2 separate regions of the Homo sapiens genome follow, and region 2 is linked to region 1. Evidence: promoter capture Hi-C in human tissues and cell types (Jung and others, 2019). All regions are on one chromosome and are shown on one strand. Each heading gives the region's core, a stretch centred on a gene start or on the middle of the fragment in contact. The rest is flanking DNA. Distances are from core to core; before and after follow the strand shown. Region 1 holds the start of CARD10 (caspase recruitment domain family member 10). Region 2 overlaps TMPRSS6 (transmembrane serine protease 6).

Region 1 (2,708 bases), core at 53-2,552:
TTTGGAAAAGGACACCAGGATATATAAAGTTAAATCTGTTTCTTTACTGCTGGGGCTTTTTTTTTTTTTTTTTTTTTTTTTGAGGGGGAGTCTCATTCTGTTGCCCGGGCTGCTGGAGTGCAGTGGCACGATATCACTGCAACCTCCGCCTCCTGGGTTCAAGCGATTCTCGTGCCTCAGCCTCCCGAGTAGCTGGGATTACAGACGCGCACTACCACGTCTAGCTAATTTTTATATTTTTAGTAGAGATGGGGTTTCGCCATATTGGTCAGGCTGGTCTCGAACTCCTGACCTCAGGTGATCCACTCGCCTCGGTCTCCCAAAGTGTCGGGATTCCAGGCATGAGCCACCGCCCCCGGCCTTAATTTAAGCAGGGCTTTTCAGAGCCTTTATTGATTGAAACCTTAATTCTTTGGATAAGTAATACATATGTCCACGGCATCTAATTCAGAAGTTGTGGAAGGCGATTAGGGAGCTCACACCTCTTTCCTGTACCGGTTGTGCCTCCTCTGTTCCTCCCTGGCAGCAGGTACCTGGCAGCTTCTAATGCATAGCGAGACTGTATCGCATGCACCAGCAGATACCGTGTAGACTCGGCCAGTATCATGGTAAGACACCACCGGCCTCCCAGGCAGGAGCGGGAGTATGGATGGCTAGTCACAGCCCGCCCCCAGCATCTCTGGGACCAACACCTGGAGGAATACCCTTTGAGAATTGTGGGGTCCCTGGTCCTCAAGTGCCACGGGAGTTTGCGTAAGAGGGGAGTTGGCAGTGCTGCCCTGCAGGTTCAGACCCCCATCTTGCAGAAAGCCCCCATGACCTCTGCCCATTGCTGTCCCCCGCGGGGCTGTCCTGCGCTCCAGGGAAGCTCCCGCGCCCGCAGTGCATGTGGGGACCCGAGAAGGGCAAGCCCAGCTTGAGTGCCCGCGGGCTGCGCCGGGCGTGAGCGGCTAGCCCCGCACGGGCGGGCGCGCTGTGGGCGTGGGGAGGCGATGCGCGTGGCCCGGGGAAGGTGTGTCGCGGCGCGCGGGGGGTGTGAGCGCGCCTGCCCGCCCCCGCCCCGCCCAGAGGCCGGGCAGGTGTGGGCGGGCGGCCAGGACCCCGCCGAGCCGGGCTGGAGAGCCGGCGGGAAACAGGAAGCAGGGGGAGGCGCAGCCGGACGGCCGGGAGGGAGGGCGTGCAGACGGACGCGCGGGGTGGCCGGGGGCCGGACGCACGACCCGGGGCGGGCGGCAATGTGGGGAGGCCCGGGCAGCCCAGGAGGCTGCGGGGACGGGGGCGGAGCCGGGGGCGCCACGGGCACCGCCCCCCTGCGCCGGCGGAGCCGCCGCCCGAGTGCGGACCCGGGAGCCCGAGGCGACTGTAGCGTGCGGGGTGAGTCGCGGGGAGCTCGGGGCGCGCCCCCGACGGCGGGTCTGCGGACGACGCCCCGGGGGTGCTTGGCCGCACATCTAGCCCTAGGGAGCCCTGGTCGACCCCCGTGCGCCTCTTGCCCGCAGACCCTGAGGACACGGCCATGCCGGGCCGGGCGGAGGCGGGGGAGGCCGAGGAGGAGGCCGGGGCCGGCTCGGGGTCTGAGGCGGAGGAGGACGCGCTGTGGGAGCGAATCGAGGGCGTCCGGCATCGGCTGGCTCGCGCCCTGAACCCGGCCAAGCTCACGCCGTATCTGCGCCAGTGCCGGGTCATCGACGAGCAGGACGAGGAGGAGGTGCTGAGCACCTACCGCTTCCCGTGCCGCGTCAACCGCACCGGTGAGCCGCGGGTCCCGAGTGGGCCACGACCTGGGCCGGCCGTGCCCTGGGGCGCAGCGCCCACAGCCGTGTAGCGCGAAGCTAGGGCTCTGCTGCCCTGGGGCTCGGTCTCCGCATCAGTAGAGTGGGCCGGCTGGGTATGCCCACCAGCCTGCCTCCTCCCCACCCACCACTGCGCCTTGGCGGTCCGCGTTGCCCACACCGGGGTCAGAGTTTTGTCTCTTGGGGTTCTCTCCCACTTCCTGGGTCCACATTAGAGCAGAAGGTTGGATGTGGCTGCCAGGGCCGGCTGGGCCTGGGACCTCCCGGTCACAGCCGGTGGACTTGGCACCTTTCCTGCGCTCTTTGATCTCCGAGTTCTGTCTGTCCCCTCCTCTGTGCACCATACACTCCTGGGGGAGTCCTTTTTCAAGTGTCAAGATCCGTCTCAGCTTTACGTGGGTCCCCACTCCCACAGGGTGTGCCTTTGAACCAGAACTCAAAAAGGCATGATGGAATGGTCTTTAATGGTGGAATTTCAGGCATGGCCAATGGGAGAAGTATTTTCTTTGCTTCTGGGGATAGAGGGGGCTTCTCTGTGCCATTGAAAAGGCAGGCTGCATTTGCGGGCCGGCATCTGTGTCTGTGGGGGGTGTTGGGGAGCTCTGGGAGCCCAGGAGTCATGAGGGAATGTGCTCCCCTGGCTGTGGCAGAATGGCTCTCTTCTCTTCCCTGATGTGTTGGGACAGGCCCCTGTGTGTGTCACTGGCTCAAAAATCTGGGGAACGTGGGCCTGGAGCATGGTGGGGGCAGAAGCAACCAGGCACCTGGGGAGGCCTTCCCCTAGACCCTGGGTACATCCCCCCACTACTCTGTAGGGCGCCTGATGGACATCTTGCGCTGCCGTGGCAAGAGGGGCTATGAGGCCTTCCTGGAAGCCCTGGAGTTCTACTACCCCGAACACTTCACGCTGCTCAC
Region 2 (2,708 bases), core at 84-2,583, 440 kb after region 1:
TGCACAAAGTCACCCAGCTCTTTGAGCCAGAGTTAAGGCCAGGCAGCCTGATCTGGAGTGCACGTGGGTGCACAGATGCATGTCTGTGTGCGTGCGTACATCCATGCATGTCTGTGCACGTGTACGTGCATGTGTGTGTGGTCCACGTGTGCGATTCTTCCCTCTGAGCCTCTAGCGGCCCATGCCAGCTGGTGACTCCCTCAGCCAAGGCATCCCCAGCCAACCCACTGGCATCTGGGTGGGGGGATCGACAGTTTCTGTGGCTGTCCCACCAGTTCCAGAGCGGCCTGGGAAGTCCCAGCCCTTTCTTCTCAGACTTTCATTAAGGGTCCAGGGTCCCCAGGGGCAGACTCTTGTCCCCTCCCCGCAGACTCCTCCTGTGTGAATGAATGTGGAAGGGAAGGCAGAGGTGGCGCCTGCAAACCATCCGCACTGGGCCACTGTGCCCTCTAGTTATGATCATGGGCGATAGTGATCATCCCATGTAGATGCTGAGAAATTCTTAGAATGAGCATTTGTTGGAAATCTGCTTGTGTGGGTGGCAAAGACATGAGAGGTCTAGGGAAGAGCAGATTTTCAGACAAGGCACTTTAGGGAGGGGGAGGTACAGCCCTTTGGCCCAGAATGCCCATTGATGGAGAGGGCGGGTCAGGGGAGAGGGTATCTTAACCCTCAAGTGCCAGCGTAGTGATGAGGAAAGGCTGGCCTGGTGGGCCCCCCATGGACTAAGCATCCTTAGGCACTTCACCTGACTCCTCTGAGACTGTGGTGCCTCCTTCACCCCTGACCTGCCTGCTTTCTACCTAGCTTCTCCCGGTGCCCACTTGAGCCCAGCTGAGGCCTCAGGCCCTTGAGTGGCCTGGGGGTGGTAGAGGGACTTGGCCCGTGAGATCTGGCCATGGCTGCTCCATTTCGCAGAAGCCACTCTCACGGGCTGCCACCGAAGCACGGGCTTCCCCCTTTCCGGGAACCTGCCTCCTGCCAGCTTCCTCTCCTGTGACATCACTTCTCTTGTGATTCGCCCCACCATTTCCACTCACTCCCAGCCAGTGGGGACAGGCAGAACCATGGGTTCCCTAGGCCAGCTGGAGCCACCCCCGACCCGGCCTGGCCTGGCTATGGGGTGGCCCTTGTGTTCTCCGGAGCGCTAGTGGCCAGCACAGGCGGCAGCCACAGACACTTAGTAGGAACTTCAGTGTGGCTGACCTGAGCTGGGCTGGCCGTGCAGGAGAGTGCAAGCTGCTTCCTCCATGAGCTCACAGCCTGACGTCAGCAAGTGCTTCAAAGAAGTCATTTCCTATGCATGCCTTAAACCATGCCACAAGGGAGATACGATCACCCCTGTTTTACAAATGTGAAAACTAAAGCTTGCTGAGGGTGACCCAAGGTCACACAGCTTGTTCCTGGGGCAAAGCCAGGCTGCCAATTCAGCTCTGCAGCCCCAGGTCTAGAGCTCTGGCAATGCCAGGTGCTGCTCTCCTCCCCTCTTCAGCACTTGCCTTCTGTGACCCTCCTTCCCCTTTAATCTGTCTGTAGGTAAGGGCACGGGGGTGTGCATTCATCCACCCACGCACCCTTCTTTCCTTCTTCCTTCTTGTGTTCTCCCCACCCTTCCATCCATCCATCCATCCATCCATGCATCTATCCCTCCAGGCAGTACATCCTGACAGGGTCCCTGTCTACCTCCTGGATGAGGCAAGAAGGAAATATTCCCCATATCCAGAGAGGTGAGGAAGCAAGGCAGGCCACACGGTGCAAAAATGTGCCTTCAGACACTCAGTACTTTGTAGCCAAGATGAACTGGCAGGCATCGCAGCAGTCAGGCTTCTGGTGCTTCTTGGAGAGGGCTAGAGGGGAGCACTTGTTGGACGGGAGGCACTGGAGAGCCAGAGAATGTGCACCCTCCCCCAGAGAGTTCTGCAGCAGAAACAGAAAACTCAGATGGGCCAAGGGGCCAGGCCAGGGCTAGAGTCTATGATGGGGGGTAGGGTAGTCCAGTGGTGTTTTCGGGGCTTTTCTTTCTTTCTCTCTTTCTCTTTCTTTCTTTCTTTCTTTCTTTCTTTCTTTCTTTCTTTCTTTTTCTTTCTTTCTTTCTCTTTTTCTCCTTCTCCTTCTCCTTCTTCCTCTTCTTTCTCTTTCTTCTTTCTTCTTCCTTATTCTCCTTTTCCCTTCTTCTCCCTTCCTCTTCTCCTTCTTCTCCTTCTCTTCCTTCTCCTCCTCCTCTTTCTTCTTCTTCTCCTTCTCCTCTTCCTCCTCCTCCTTCTTCTTCTCCTCCTCCTTCTCCTCATTCTCTTTCTCCTTTCTTCCTCTTCATCTTTTCTTCTTCTTCTCCTCCGCCTCCTCCTTCCTCTTCCTCTTCCTCTTCCTCTTCTCCTTCTAAAGGAGCAGGAATCTGGATTATTATGTGAAATTAGCTCGCGACTCAATGAAGCAATTTCTACATGGTGCATAAACAGATTGTCTTTACGCTGAGTGACTCCGCTTGGGCCACTAGATTTCAGCCGCTGCCTTGAATTCCTCTCTGGCGCTTTCTAAGCAGACGCTTGTTCCAGGGATTCCACCACCTCTACCCGTGCTCCAGGCCTCCAGAGTGAGAACCAAACACTGCCCAGACAGACAGGTTCCCGGGTACACGGTGAGGCCCTGGGGAAAGGTTGCTGCCAGCTACAGACTGGTTCTAGGACTCTCCCTGGAGGTTGAGAGAACTT

The links. Contacts are between HindIII fragments. The study calls those that stand out against the background at their distance.
Region 2: a fragment that was not itself captured here is called in contact with the fragment with the promoter of CARD10 in region 1 in 1 of the 25 tissues and cell types used here (hippocampus).

What each region holds. Positions count from the first base shown.
Region 1 is chr22:37,518,009-37,520,716 of GRCh38, reverse strand. It overlaps CARD10 (caspase recruitment domain family member 10), which reads left to right and starts at 1,302. Exons shown (of 20, transcript NM_014550.4): 1 at 1,302-1,751; 2 at 2,609-2,708. The coding sequence starts at 1,517. The HindIII fragment of the contact is 30,090 bases long and covers 1-2,708 here.
Region 2 is chr22:37,078,345-37,081,052 of GRCh38, reverse strand. The region is part of intron 10 of TMPRSS6 (transmembrane serine protease 6); the gene reads left to right. Among named protein-coding and RNA genes, the nearest start is that of KCTD17, 28 kb to the right of the region's middle. RefSeq lists an enhancer at 1-672. The HindIII fragment of the contact is 8,225 bases long and covers 1-2,708 here.